5 separate regions of the Homo sapiens genome follow, and regions 1, 3, 4 and 5 are each linked to region 2. The links are contacts of gene promoters, found by promoter capture Hi-C in blood cells and fetal thymus (Javierre and others, 2016). All regions are on one chromosome and are shown on one strand. The core of a region is centred on a gene start or on the middle of the fragment in contact, and the rest is flanking DNA. Distances in the headings are between cores, read along the strand shown.

The links. The method cuts DNA at HindIII sites, captures the fragments that hold promoters and counts their contacts. A CHiCAGO score of 5 or more calls a contact.
Region 1: a fragment that was not itself captured here is called in contact with the fragment with the promoter of XPNPEP2 in region 2 in 2 of 17 cell types (M0 macrophages and M1 macrophages); the score reaches 6.2 in M0 macrophages.
Region 3: a contact is called between a fragment that was not itself captured here and the fragment with the promoter of XPNPEP2 in region 2, in 1 of 17 cell types (activated CD4 T cells). The highest score is 5.2, in activated CD4 T cells.
Region 4: a contact is called between a fragment that was not itself captured here and the fragment with the promoter of XPNPEP2 in region 2, in 5 of 17 cell types (activated CD4 T cells, non-activated CD4 T cells, total CD8 T cells and 2 more). The highest score is 7.5, in activated CD4 T cells.
Region 5: a contact is called between a fragment that was not itself captured here and the fragment with the promoter of XPNPEP2 in region 2, in 3 of 17 cell types (activated CD4 T cells, non-activated CD4 T cells and neutrophils). The highest score is 9.0, in activated CD4 T cells.

Annotation. Positions count from the first base shown.
Region 1 is chrX:129,919,451-129,922,150 of GRCh38, forward strand. It overlaps UTP14A (UTP14A small subunit processome component), which reads left to right. Exons shown (of 15, transcript NM_006649.4): 8 at 1-39; 9 at 1,007-1,130; 10 at 1,225-1,302; 11 at 1,744-2,137. The region is part of intron 2 of LOC105373335 (a long non-coding RNA gene); the gene reads right to left. Among named protein-coding and RNA genes, the nearest start is that of UTP14A, 15 kb to the left of the region's middle. The HindIII fragment of the contact is 8,896 bases long and covers 1-2,700 here.
Region 2 is chrX:129,737,675-129,740,374 of GRCh38, forward strand. It overlaps XPNPEP2 (X-prolyl aminopeptidase 2), which reads left to right and starts at 1,305. Exons shown (of 21, transcript NM_003399.6): 1 at 1,305-1,588. The coding sequence starts at 1,540. RefSeq lists an enhancer at 535-584. The HindIII fragment of the contact is 11,300 bases long and covers 1-2,700 here.
Region 3 is chrX:129,953,031-129,955,730 of GRCh38, forward strand. No RefSeq gene overlaps it. Among named protein-coding and RNA genes, the nearest start is that of BCORL1, 28 kb to the right of the region's middle. RefSeq lists an enhancer at 1-548. The HindIII fragment of the contact is 4,564 bases long and covers 1-2,700 here.
Region 4 is chrX:129,873,399-129,876,098 of GRCh38, forward strand. It overlaps the pseudogene SALL4P2. Among named protein-coding and RNA genes, the nearest start is that of ZDHHC9, 31 kb to the left of the region's middle. The HindIII fragment of the contact is 1,207 bases long and covers 767-1,973 here.
Region 5 is chrX:129,973,852-129,976,579 of GRCh38, forward strand. No RefSeq gene overlaps it. Among named protein-coding and RNA genes, the nearest start is that of BCORL1, 7.4 kb to the right of the region's middle. The HindIII fragment of the contact is 3,364 bases long and covers 1-2,728 here.

The DNA of each region.
Region 1 (2,700 bases), core at 112-2,611, 180 kb after region 2:
GGCCAAGGCTCGAAGAGAGAAGAAAATCAAAAGTAAAAAGTAAGGAGGCCCCTGTGAACTGGCCTTGGGTTCCACAGAAGAAAGTCATGTGGTTCATCATGAATTCTTTGGAGAGAACCTTTGATGCAGCAACTAGAGTCATGCAGATGAGGTCCCAAACAGGAGTGACTAGCCTTTTGTTCCCCCCAAACCAACCTCATACAGTTTTGCCAAAAAGATGACTATTCAGTTACTTTCTCTGCCTTCCAAGGCATCACAGAGTGGTTCTGCAGAATCAGCTCTGAATTCCAGAGCTGTTAAGGCCAATAGGGCTTCCTTCCTGCCTTTTTGCCTCTTTGAAACTTGTTCGGCCGGGTGTGGTGGCTATGCTTGTAATCCCAGCACTTTGGGAGGCCGAGGTGGATGGACCACTTGAGCTCAGGAGTTCAAGACCAGCCTGGGCAACATGGCAAAACTGGCTGGGCACGGTGGCTCACACCTGTAATCCCAGCACTTTGGGAGGCTCAGGCAGGTGGATCACTTGAGGTAAGGAATTCAAGACCAGCCTGGCCAACATGGCGAAACCCCATCTCTACTAAAAGTACAAAAATTAGCCAGGCATGGTAATGTGCACCTATAGTCCCAGCTACTTAGGAGGCTGAGGCGGGAGGATCGCTTGAGCCCAGCGGGTGGAGGCTGCAGTGAGCCAAGATCATGTCACTGCACTCCAGCCTGAGTGACAGAGTGAGACCCTGTCTAAAAAAAAAAATGAAACTTGTTCTACCCCTCCCTTGAGTTATAGAGGCAAAGGAGACTCTTTGAGCTGCAGAGGTCCACCCTGAGGACTGTGGGTACCAAGAATCTTGCCAGTCCTGTCAGGTCCCAAACTGACTCCCTATAGCCAACTAGCTCTATGATGCCCATTCCAGCCCCCTGCCTAGGGAACCCATTGGGTAGTATGGGCACTTGTGCCTATGACATCCGTGCTTCAGCTAAATTGCTAAACTCTTCCCTCCTACCCCTACAGGTATCACAAAGTCGTGAAGAAAGGAAAGGCCAAGAAAGCCCTAAAAGAGTTTGAGCAGCTGCGGAAGGTTAATCCAGCTGCAGCACTAGAAGAACTGGAAAAAATTGAAAAGGCCAGAATGATGGTGAGACTACCTCTTGCCCCACCCCCACCCCTTTGAACCAGCTTTCCTTGGAAGGCACTAAAGATGTAAATCTCACTCTGTCCTTTCTTTCTAGGAAAGAATGAGCCTTAAGCACCAAAACAGTGGGAAATGGGCCAAGTCAAAGGCAATTATGGCCAAATATGACCTGGAGGTAAGAGACCCTTGGGGTGAGAGAAGATCTGGAATTGGAGGATGCTAGCAGAAGCAGAGTTGGGGAAGAGCCATGAGGATGGATGGAAAACCAGGAATCTAAAAAGGCATCAGAAAAATCTCTAAGGCAGAAAGGAAAATGACCAGGAACAAGGTGGAAAAGGAGAGATGAAAGGGAAACAGCATTGAAGGCAAGTCCAAAGGGGGAGAGGAGCTTTTTAAAATCTTATTTCACCGTTGATTCCTTGAGGACAAAGAATTTGTCTTCCATTTTATACCATAGCTATTAACCCAGCATTGTATATGCAGTTTAAACAGTAGGTACCAGTAAGAAATACTCACCAAGTCAAATTGAGAGGAGGCAGCTTTATGAAATGGACCAGGAAAGGTGTTATTGCGGTCACTAATGACAGGGCTCTCATGCTGTGACTCTTTCCTCCAGGCTCGCCAAGCTATGCAGGAACAGTTGTCTAAGAACAAAGAACTGACACAGAAACTCCAGGTAGCCTCTGAGAGTGAGGAAGAGGAGGGAGGCACAGAAGATGTGGAAGAACTCCTTGTCCCTGATGTAGTGAATGAAGTGCAGATGAATGCAGATGGGCCGAATCCCTGGATGCTCAGGAGCTGCACCAGTGACACCAAAGAGGCTGCAACCCAGGAGGACCCTGAGCAACTGCCAGAGCTTGAGGCCCATGGAGTTTCTGAAAGTGAGGGAGAAGAAAGACCAGTGGCAGAAGAAGAAATTTTGTTGAGAGAATTTGAGGAAAGGCGATCCCTTAGAAAAAGATCTGAGCTCAGCCAAGATGCTGAGCCAGCAGGCAGTCAAGAAACAAAAGGTGAGCTGTGATCAAATGGAAGAGGGAAATTCCTAGTGCTGTGGACAGACTATGGGAGAAAAAAAAAATGTGTCCACCCACACACAAAACTGCATAGTGATTAGGCGCTGGGGACTTGCAAGAGTGCGTACACTGGATCCCTGAAGAGAAATTAGATTCATAACTATTTTTCTTCGAAGACATTTAATAAGCAGTCATCTGCATGGCCGTGCAACGTGGTTCAGGCACATTTTCTGTTCTTGGGGGCTTACAGCCTTCAGAAACCCATAATAACTAAACCATACTCGAAGTCAGGGTATGAGTTAGCGTTCCTGGTACCTACACACCAGGGAGAAGTACGTATGGTAGAATGGCAAATCTGAAAGTCCATTCACACCTGTAGACACAGATAGGTCAATTTTGAGACATTAGGAAACATTGTCTAGTTGCTGGATTTTTTTGTTTTGTTGGTTAAGTAGGAGTGGCATTTTTAGCACTTCTTAATGCTAGTTGATGTGTGTATACATGGGGTGAGACTTTACGGAATGAATGACTCCACAGGGCCACATGGCAAATTAGAATTG
Region 2 (2,700 bases), core at 55-2,554:
GGTGGCCAGGCATGGTGACACGCACCTGTGGTCTCAGCTACTCAGAAGGCTGAGGCTGGAGAATCACTTGAGCCCGGGAGGCTGAGGTTGCAGTGAACCGAGAACATGCCACTGCACTCCACCCTGGGCAACAGAATAAGACCCTGTTTCAAAAATAAAAATAGAAACAAAAGGAATGGGCAGTTTGCCTCTGGGGCCCTCCAGGCTAGGTGAGCATCCATCCCCATTGGGTCTGTTTGTCTCTCTAAAGCATTCCTCTCTGGGAAATCACCTTCCTCGAACCCAAAGAGCAAGGGTTCTGTAGAGCATTTACTAGGAGCTGCCTTGAAGCTGCCCTCTGATTCAGCTGGGCGTGAAGACAAGGCAGGCCTCAGCTTCTCCATTTCCCTCATTGGGAGTTGTGTTGTTTACGAGTGACTCACACTTCAGGGTAACCAAATCCCTGTTCTAGAAGCTACAGCAGAAACAGCATTTCCAGTTCACCAAATTAGTCTTCTCAGAGCGCCCAAACTCCCCTTTCTGTGTCTTCTTCCCTATTCAGTGGCATCCCCCAAACCCTCCAGATAGGGGCATCTTTGGGCTTTCATTTCCTCCCAGGTGTGAGTGGCTCTAACAGCCTCGGTTCCCCAGAGTGCAGGTTCAGAAAATGCAGGGGAATGGGACTCCCCAGATCCCAAGGGAAGAGCTGGCATCACTTCTTCAGAGTGGGCACTCCTGGGGGGACTCATCCCAGCTCAAGAAAGTAACTCTCCAGTCACAACCAACTTTCCCAAGGGGTACAGTGGGACTTGCCAAGCACTACAAGAAGAGAGGACACTGGCTTTTCCAGTCAGCTTGGAGGAAGAGAGGGAGGAAAAAAGGAGGGGGAGGAAGAGCAAAAAGGAGGAGGAGGAGGAAATGGACAAGGAGGAAAAAAAAAAAAAGGAGGAGGATGAGGAGGGAAAAGGAGGAAGAAGAAGAGGAAGTGGAGGAGCCCAGAAAAGGAGGGGAAGGAGGAAAAAGGAGGAGGAGAAGGAAAACGAGGAGGAAGAAGAGGTGGGGAGGAAAAGGAGCAGCAGCAGGAGGCAAATCTCCATCCCCACAGCAAAAGCAGTGCTGGAGCCAGAGCCCAGAGTGTGGGAGCTAATGGGAATCAGCTTGCTGGAGGGAAGGGGACCGAATTAAGGAATGGCTGGGGCTCTGCCGCTGAGAGGGGGCTGGGAAAAGCAGGCTGATTGAGACCAGCTGTTGTGCCTCTGTCTCTGAGATCTTTGGACTCTGCCCAGGATAGCCTCACACCCTATCCTACACGACTAGGAACTTGCACAGTCCGCCTCGGGCAGCCCAAAGCTCCTCTGCCCACCCTGGCTCCCAGAGCCCTCCAAAACAAAAGACCAGAGAAGCACTCTCCACCCAGCAGCCAGACGCCTCCTTCTTGACGCCAGCCCCCACCCTCTGTCTGCTCGAGCCCAGGAAAGGCCTGAAGGAAGAGGCCGGGGAAAGAGCCCTCCCTCTCTCCCTTGTCCCTCCATCCACCCAGCGCCGGCATCTGGAGACCCTATGGCCCGGGCTCACTGGGGCTGCTGCCCCTGGCTGGTCCTCCTCTGTGGTATGTGCATCCTAGCTTCCACTGGAAGGCAGCTCTGACCTCTCCCCTCTGAGCTCAGAAAGGGTTGGAGTGAGGGTTGGGGCCCGAGTCTCTTTTTCTGTTGCTTCCTCTCTCTGACTTGAGGAAGAGACACCTCAGGGCCAGTGTTGGGGGCCCTCATAACTTGGATCGAGTCTGGTTTGGCACCTTTCCATTCCCCCCGTTATAGAAAAAAAATATTCTGACACTCGTTAAAACGGTAAGGAAAACTTAATTTAAGACTACCGCATTGCAATAGAGGAGAGAAATGGGGCTCAACTCTGATTACAGAAAAGACTTCCAGGGATCTGTAGCCAAGGAGCAGAGTGAGGGGGTCAGTGGATGGAAAAGTATTAAGAGGAGATAGCAAGGGTAGGGGGATTCTTGCTAAACCGACTGAACAGCATTCTTGCTGACGGCAGGCCAGAGTGATCAGATATCAAGGGTGTCTAAACTGACTTAGCAAGATTCTTGCTAAGACTGGGTGATGCAAGCCTGGCAAGGGCAGGACAGACACAGAAGGCCAAGGTCAAGGCCAAGTGGAGAAGAGGCTTTGGGGGAGCCTAACTAAACTTTGGTCAGGAAGAGAGTCTTTCCTCTTTGTCATTCCTGCGGCACCCTCTCTGTCCTCAACTAGGTGCCCAGCCCAGCGCTCCCACCCTAGCCTTCCTTTCTTTGTTGTCTGTCAGCAGGGCCTGATCAGTCACTCAATGTCCAGTTCCTGAGCACCTACCCAGTGCCAGGCCTTGTGCCAGGGACCACAGAGTCATTCAGCTGCAGAGCCTGCTCTTGGGAGCCACAGCCCTGGCCTCAGAGAACAGCATATTCTGGTGTCCAGAGAGACATAAGTTGGCTGTGTCCTCATTCTTATGTTAGCATATCAGTGCCAACATTTTGCCAGGGATCTGTTTCTACAGAAATGGGTGTTTGTTTTCTTAAATGAACAGTATGGGTCGCATCTGATCCTTGAGTTTATGAGACCAAGATAAAATCACACAGGACGTTCATGGTGTTGAACCCCAGCCACCCTCCTTGCATCTGTAGCTCAGCCCACTCGAAAGTGTGGCTGGGCGTGGTGGCTCATGCCTGTAATC
Region 3 (2,700 bases), core at 198-2,697, 220 kb after region 2:
CCTCTGGCCCTCCACCCCTCCAGCCTCTCCCAGCCCCCATAGTGCTCGTTTACTCTCCCCTTCCCCTCCGCACCACCCCCCCACGCCCACCGGGGCCTCCCTCCTCCCCGGCAGCCAGCCCACTTTGGGGAGGGGGCTTCGGCGCAGGGGACAGACAAAAGGGCCTGGACGGACCCGGGGGCACCCCTCTGCAGCTCCCCACAACCACGTGGCCCCTCCCTCCTCGGGCAGCCGGCAGCTTCCCCCTCCCCTGCCCAGCCGGAGGTCTGGGGAGTTCGGGCCCCGAAGCATCCTTCCGGGCCTCGCTGGCGCCAATCGCTCCGCCGCGGGTGCTGAGCCTCCGGGTGCTTCGAATACCAAGGAATGCACCGGGCATGGGTGGGGGACATGCTCCGGGGGCGGAGGCAGCTTTTTCGGTTCCCAGGCTGGAGAACGGCCAGCCAAAGGGAGGAGACTCGGCCCCCGCCGTCGGAAGGTTCCCGGTACAGTGGGGTTGACAAGATCTCCAACCTCAGGGAGCTCCAGGTCTGATAGGAGAGACCCAGTCTCTCTCCCTTTAGCAGTTCAAACTCAACAGTAAGGATGAATCCAAAAGTGGGATGAAGGTGCCCTGCAAAAGCAGAGCTGGCCTATGTATTCGTGAACTTCTGGCTGAACCAGATTGTTTTTGGGCCATGTTGTCCAGCACTTAGCGAGCTGCCCTTCCCATCCTACCAACTCCTGCCACCAAAAGTTGGAATGGAAAGTGAGCTCCTTCCCATTCCATACCGTGGTAAAATTTAAACAAGGCCATTGAAGATGAAGGTTATCCAGTAAATCAGCCAAAACATTCACAAAACATTCTCAAAGCAGCCTCTGTAAATGCACTCTTAGCTAGGGTCTAGAGCCATGGCACTAGCCTGGCCCTAGATACCATGTGTATGCATTTTAGAGTCTTCGGAGGTACTGTTCCCCTGAGTCTCCCCCTCGCCACCCGCTGACCACTTAATACCATTTTAGTCAACAAGGCTAAGTCCCCTCAGGGGATATGCCTGTGGCCAGAGCCACACTTGGTGCACTTTAGGCATAGCCCTGGCCAATCCCAGAACAAAAGACCCAAATGCTGGGAGGGGAGGGGTGACAGAAAGAATTCCATCTCTCCAGTATCTTAGGGAGGGATTTGAGCCGAGAAGGGCCTCAGGCTTGACAGGGACCAGCAGAATAGCACTTGCCTGCAACCAAACCTAGTAAGAATGGCCACCACAACTACTATTTATTGAACCCTCACAAACTGCCAAGTACATAGCACACTAATCCCAATAACAGTCTTATATGGTAGGTACTATTATTATCCCCGTTCAACAGATAAGGCAACTATGGTTCAGAGAAGGTAACTTGAAGAGGTCACACAGCTGGTTAGTGGCAGAGCTGGGTTTGGAATCCAGGTCTGGCCAATGCCCAAGTCCAGCTCTCTAATCACTATACTACCCAACCTCTTTCCCACAAAGAGTGATTCTAAAACTCTCCCAGAAGCAACAGAGACAACTGGGTCAGGGCATGGTCTTGCTGGAAACTGGCTATTTGCCAAAATGTAGAGAGGTCAACAGGCGCCCAAAGTCACCCTGCTGGCTTTGTAAATGCCACAGAGACTCCCACATAAAAGTCCAGACTCCTAGATTCCTAACCTAGAATGCAAAGGAGACATCCTATCTGCCCATCCCCACAGACATCATCCCACTTCCGGTTTCTGTCTTCTGGGTAGCAGTGAGGTTTTCAGGATGCCAGGCTAAGGGTGAGCTTCTTGGAGGCAGTGTTGTGGGGATGGGCTTGATAATGGACCCCCGCTGCCCTACCCCCAGTCCTCCCTGGAGGGAGGACAAATAGGCCCATTGATTTGAAACTCTCCCAGAGGGCATTAGAGTAATGACTCTGGACTGTGTGATGCCTACACCCGCTTTGACCTGCTGACTGACCCCTGCCCTGGGAGGTTCCAAAGGCCACAAATCTCAGTTGCTTGTGGGCCATGTGGTTTGTGGCTGTTTGTAGTATTGGAGGGGAGGGGGAAATGAGGGGGGTAAGATACACTGCTTCTCACTGTGCTGGGCTTCCCAAGAGAACTAGCAAGGGGTGGACAGGGCCCCTTCTAAACACTGCCAAGACACACTGCAACTACTGATACGGGCTCCATCATTTATTTTTGAAAGCAGGAGGGCTCCTGGCTCATTTGCATAAATGTTTGCACTGCCTGCTATATTTTGATTTGGAAGAAGGGCACCAGGGCACAGAATATACATAACAGATTTGTAACTGGGCAGCTTGATCCTGTCCCTGGCCAGGCGAGCCAAAGATGGCCCCTCACCCTTTGTGTCTATTTTTGAAAGCCCCTCTTAAGTGCAAAGCCCAGCACCAAGGATGGGTGGCAATAGAAAGACCTCGCCCTGAATGGGGTGCTTCTAAGCCAGGTGTGTAGGTGGATGGGTAGATAAGGCAGCACTTGACTTGAAAAAGGGATGAACGGGCATGGTGGCTCACACCTGTAATCCCAGCACTTTGGGAGACCTGAGGCATGAGGATCACTTGAGCCTAGGAGCTTGAGACCAGCCTGGGCAACAGAGAGAACTTGTCTCTACAAAAAACATGTTTTTGAGAATTAGCTGGACATGGTGGCGCGCACCTATGGTCCCAGCTACTTATGAGGTTGAGGTGGAGGGATCGCTTGAG
Region 4 (2,700 bases), core at 120-2,619, 140 kb after region 2:
AAGACAATTTTAAAAGCCTATGTTAAAAATAATTATTCTTGAAGTCAAGGCAGGCGGATCACTTGAGGTCAGGAGTTCAAGACCAGCCAGGCTGGTATGGTGAGACCCTGTCTCTACTAAAAATAGAAAAATTAGCTGGGCATGGCAGCGTGTGCCTGTAATCCCAGCTACTTGGAAGGTTGAGGCATGAGAATCGCTTGAACTCAGGAGGTGAAGGTTGCAGTGAGCCAAGATCATGCCACTGCACTCCAGCCTAGGCGACACAGTGAGACTCCATCTCAAGAAAAAAAAAATCTAACAATTATTATTATTATTGCTGCACTTTATACACATAATCAGGCCAAGTATAATAAAGCAAATCAGTCTTACCATGATTTGTCTTTAGTAAAAATGGGAGACTGGAGAGAGAAAAATTGTTTCAAGAACGATGGTACGCCTGTTATTAAATTATAGTCTCATTCGTTGTTTTTAAGGGTTTTTTTTCCTGCAATTTAGACTAACCGTGCTTATTCCTGTGAACCAACCAGTGATCTCTGGCTGCTGCTCAGAAGAAACAAGAGGGATGGGTAATGTAAAAATCTGGGTCAGTATTCTAATTCTGGGCACATATTAGAATCAGCTAGCGACACCATATCAGCTTGGTTTCAACAATTGCCCAGTTCGTGGAAAGCTTTCTTATTCAGTTCACTTGGAATAATTTTACTTACTTTGTTTTACTGTTGTGGAAAATATTGCTGCTGTACTCTTTGTGTAGGAATGCAGGATAAGCTTACTCAACATTTTCTTAAATTGAATACTTACTACAGATATCAGCTTTTGTCAGAACTCAAGAGTTATGGATGGCCCTCACCATACTTACACTTTCTGACTGAGCTCCTCTCTACCCTGAATACAAGAGACCCTAATAGGTAGGCAGGAGTATCATTGCCCAATTCAGCCTGAAGAAGTTACGGAAGATGGATCTTTGTCCCTCTATAACCCTTAAGATTAAGGGTTCCTGGCCAGATGCGGAGGCTCACACCTGTAATCCCAGCACTTTCGGAGGCCGAGGCGGGTGAATCACCTGAGGTCACGAGTTTGACACCAGCCTGGCCAACATGGCAAAACCCCATCTCTACTAAAAATACAAAAATTAGCCAGGCATGGTGGCACGCACCTGTAGTCCCAGCTACCTGGCAGGCTGAGGCAGGAGAATCGCTTGAACTCGGGAGGGGAAGGTTGCAGAGGGCCAAGATCGCGCCACTGCACTCCAGCCTGGGTGACAGAGCAAGCCTCCATCTCAAAAAAATAAATAAATAAATAAATAAAATAATAATAATAATAAAAGATTAAGGATTCCTTTGTAAAACGCAGGGGAGAAATATGTCAGAGGTGTTCAAACCAGAGTGCCTCCATCCTGAATAGGGGCTGGGTAAAATGAGGCTGAGACCTACTGGGCTGCATTCCCAGGAGGTTAAGCATTCTAAGTCACAGGATGAGATAGGAGGTTGGCACAAGATACAGGTCACAAAGACCTTGCTGATAAAACAACATGTGGTAAAGAAGCAGACCAAATCCCACCCAAACGAAGATGGTGAGGAAAGTAACCTCTGGTCATCCTCACTGCTCATTATATGCTAATTATAATACATTAGTATGCTAAAAGACACTCCCACCAGCACCATGACAGTTTACAAATGCCAAGGCAATGTCAGGAAGTTACCATTTATGGTCTAAAAGGTGGAGGAACCGTCCGTTCCAGGAGTTGCCCACCACTTTCCCGGAAAACTCATGAAAAACCCGCCACTTGTTTAGCATGTAGTCAAGAAATAACCACAAAAATAGCCAACCAGCAGCCCTCAGGGCTGCTCTGCCTATGGAGTAGCCATTCTTTTATTCCTTTACTTTAATAAATTTGCTCTCACTTGGAAAAAAATCATACATTACCACACCCACATTGGGGAGAGACCCATCCTATGTGAAATCTGTGGACAAGCTTTTTCTACCAAAGGCAACGTAAAGACACTTCTCAGGGTTCATGGAACCAACTCATCCATAAGTACATACCCCATTAGTCAAAAGAAATTTGCCAGTGTGGTCATGTTGCAACAACATATTTGGATGAACATGGGCACTCAGATTCCCAGCATGTCCCCGCCAGAGAATCCCTGTGATTTTAGGGGTCCTGAGCCAATGATGGTCAGTGAGAATGGTAATACAAGTGCCATCTGCCATGATGATGTTGAAAGAAGACACCACTGTGGATAAAGTCAGCTCCCAGGATGCCCCCAGTAGCTACTCAAAGGTCCTCACACCTCTTCTTAGCATCCACTTAATATAACCCACCCTAGGGTTTGCCACAAAGGCTTCCCTAGCAGTCACCAGGAAAGTGGGTCCTGTTCCTTCTGGCCTGCAGAGGCAGAGCAGCTGAAAAACGATTCAGTGGAGAGCAACAGTTTAATGACTCATTCTCACTGATGGGACACCAGGACTATTAGCCAAACTCCAGATGCTGTGGAAACCACATCCTTCCAGGCACGCTCCCTAGCAACTAGCCAAGCAGAAAGCATTATGACAAAGTCTCCAGATGCTGGGAGCAAAGCTGAGCACCCCAAGAACAGCCACACTGAGATGGGCTGTCTCCCATCAACGTTTTTCTGAGCCCAGTCAACATATGTCAAAGTTCAAGTTTTAACAGGTTTGGTGGCTAGCGCTTGTAAT
Region 5 (2,728 bases), core at 43-2,542, 240 kb after region 2:
CTGAACTTTAAAAATTCCTTATTTTTTTAAACTACTATGGAGCATCTACTGGGTGCCAGGCACTGTTCTAAGTGCTTAACATACAAGAACTCATGTGATCTTTATAACGTTTGCTTCTTCTTCTTCTTTTTTATATACAGAGATGAGTTTCACCATATTGCCCAGGCTGATCTTGAACTCCTGACTTCAACTGTTCCCCCCGCCTTGGCCACACAAAGCATTGGGATTACGGGCTTCAGCCACCGCGCCTGGCCCTTATAACGTTTTCAGGAGGTACTTATTAGCCCCCATTTCACAAATGAGGGAATTGAGGCTCAGAGAAAAGTATGCAAGGCAATAGCGCTAGGAAGTGGTGGAGCCAGTATTCAAACCATGTCTGTCTAACTTCAGAGATTGTGTGCTTAATCACTGAGTGGGAAGAGAAAGACTAAAAGAGACCCAGACTTTAAAATGAGTCTTTGGCAAGAAGGGAAGTCAAGTCTGGGCCTCAGCTTCTCCACTGTAAAACAAGTCCTACTATGTGCCAAGGTGGGAGGTCTTGGGGGGAGATGAAGGAGGCTGTGATACACAGATGAGAAATACTGAGTCCTTTTATCCAAGGAACTTAAAATCTAGTCGGAGAGATAGACAGGCAGAGTGTGGAAGTGCTAACTAAAGGGACAAGCTAAAAACTGTGGGGGTGCCCCAGAGGAGCAGCCAACTTCCATAGGGAGGGTGTGGGTGTCAGGGAAAGGGGCATGAGAGAATGGTCTTTTGTTTGTTTGTTTGTTGTTTGTTGTTTGAGACAGAGTCTTGCTCTGTCGCCCAGGCTGGAGTGCAGTGGCAAGATCTCAGCTCACTGCAGCCTCTGCCTCCCAGGTTCAAGCAATTCTCCTGCCTCAGCCTCCCAAGTAGCTGGGATTACAGGCGTGTGCCATTACACCTGGCTAAGTTTGGTATTTTAAGTAGAGACGGGGTTTTGCCATGTTGCCCAGGCTGGTCTCGAACTCCTGACCTCAAGTGACCCACCCACCTTGGTCTCCCAAAGTGCTGGGATTACAGGCGTGAGCCGCCACACCCAGATGAGAGAGCTGTCTTGAGTAACGGTTGAGTGAGATTTCAATAAGCTGAGAAAGACATATAAAAAGCTGTGGGAGGGGGCAGGTGGGAGGGGCCAGGTGCGATGGCTCACGCCTATAATCCCAGCACTTTGAGAAGCCAAGGTGGGTGGATCATGTGAAATCAGGAGTTCGAGACCAACCTGGCCAACATGGTGAAACCCTGTCTCTACTAAAAATACAAAAATTAGCTGGGTGTGGTGGCACGTGCCTGTAATCCCAGCTACTAGGGAGGCTGAGGCAGGAGAATCGCTTGAACCCAGGAGAAGGAGGTTGCAGTGAGCCAAGATCACGCCATTGCATTCCAGGCTGGGCGACAAGAGCAAAACTCCATCTCAAAAAAAAGCAAGCAAACAAACAAACAAAAAAACCTGTGGGAGGCCACTATGGTGGCTCACACCTGTAATCTCAGCACTTTAGGAGGCGAAGAGGGAAGGATCACTTGAGGCTAGGAGTTCAAGACCAGCCTGGGCAACACAACGAGAACTCAAGAACTCATTTGTGCAATTTTTTTTTTTGAACAAAGTTTTGCTCTCTTTGCCCAGGCTGGAGCACAATGGCGTGATCTTGGCTCACTGCAACCTCCACCTCCTGAGTTCAAGCGATTCTCCTGCCTCAGCCTCCTGAGTAGCTGGGATTACAGGCACCTGCCACCATGCCTGGCTAATATTTGTATATTTAGTAGAGATGGGGTTTCACCATGTTGACCAGGCTGGTCTTGAACTTCTGACCTCAGGTGATCCACCCGCCTTGGCCTCCCAATGTGCTGGGATTACAGGTGTGAGCCACCACGCCCAGCCTCATCTGTACAATTTTTTTAAGTGTTTAAAAAAAAAAAAAAGCTGAGGAAGCAGAGCTGACAAAATGGATGGCTTATCCAAGGAATGCCGAGGGGGCCAGTCAGGTCAGAAAAGAGGGCTTGTGAGAGACATGGAAGGAAAGGAGGCTAGAACTAGATCAGGGAGGGCCCTAAAGGCTAGGTGAAGGCTCATGGACTTGATTTTGTTGGCAGTGGCCAACCATAGCCAGTTTTTCAGGAGGGCAGATTTCTTAGAATCCCTTCCACTTCTAGCACTGCATGTTTGATTAAGAACTTTGTTGGCTGGGCGCGGTGGCTCACACACCTATAATCCCAGCATTTTGGAAGGCCAAGGCTGGAGGATCACTTGAGCCCAGGAGTTCCAGACCAGCCTAGGCAACATTGCAAGACCACGCCACCACCACCCCCTCTAATGTTAAAAAAAATAATAATTTTTAAGAAAGAACTTTGTTTAGAGCCTAGGAGTCTCAGGGAAGAGGAGAGTGGTCAGCAAGCTGAAGGGCTTGACCCGGTGAGGCCTCTGGGTTGATTTCAGCCCCTTTCCTCATTTTCACTCCTTTGGCTATAAAATCCAAAAAAGTTGTTGGTTGTTTACAGAGTTCAGTTTAACCGGACATGCTGTCTCCCCATCCACACCTGGGGCTCTAAGAGGGCAGAGACCAGGCCATTTGTTCTCTGGGAGCCAGCACTTAGTATCCAGTACTCTGTAGGCAGCTGGAATGTATCTACCTTAGCAACCCTTCTTGCAAAAAAGGCTCATGCCTTTGAAATTTACTAATAACAAATAGAGGCAAAGACTCCTCCCCTACCC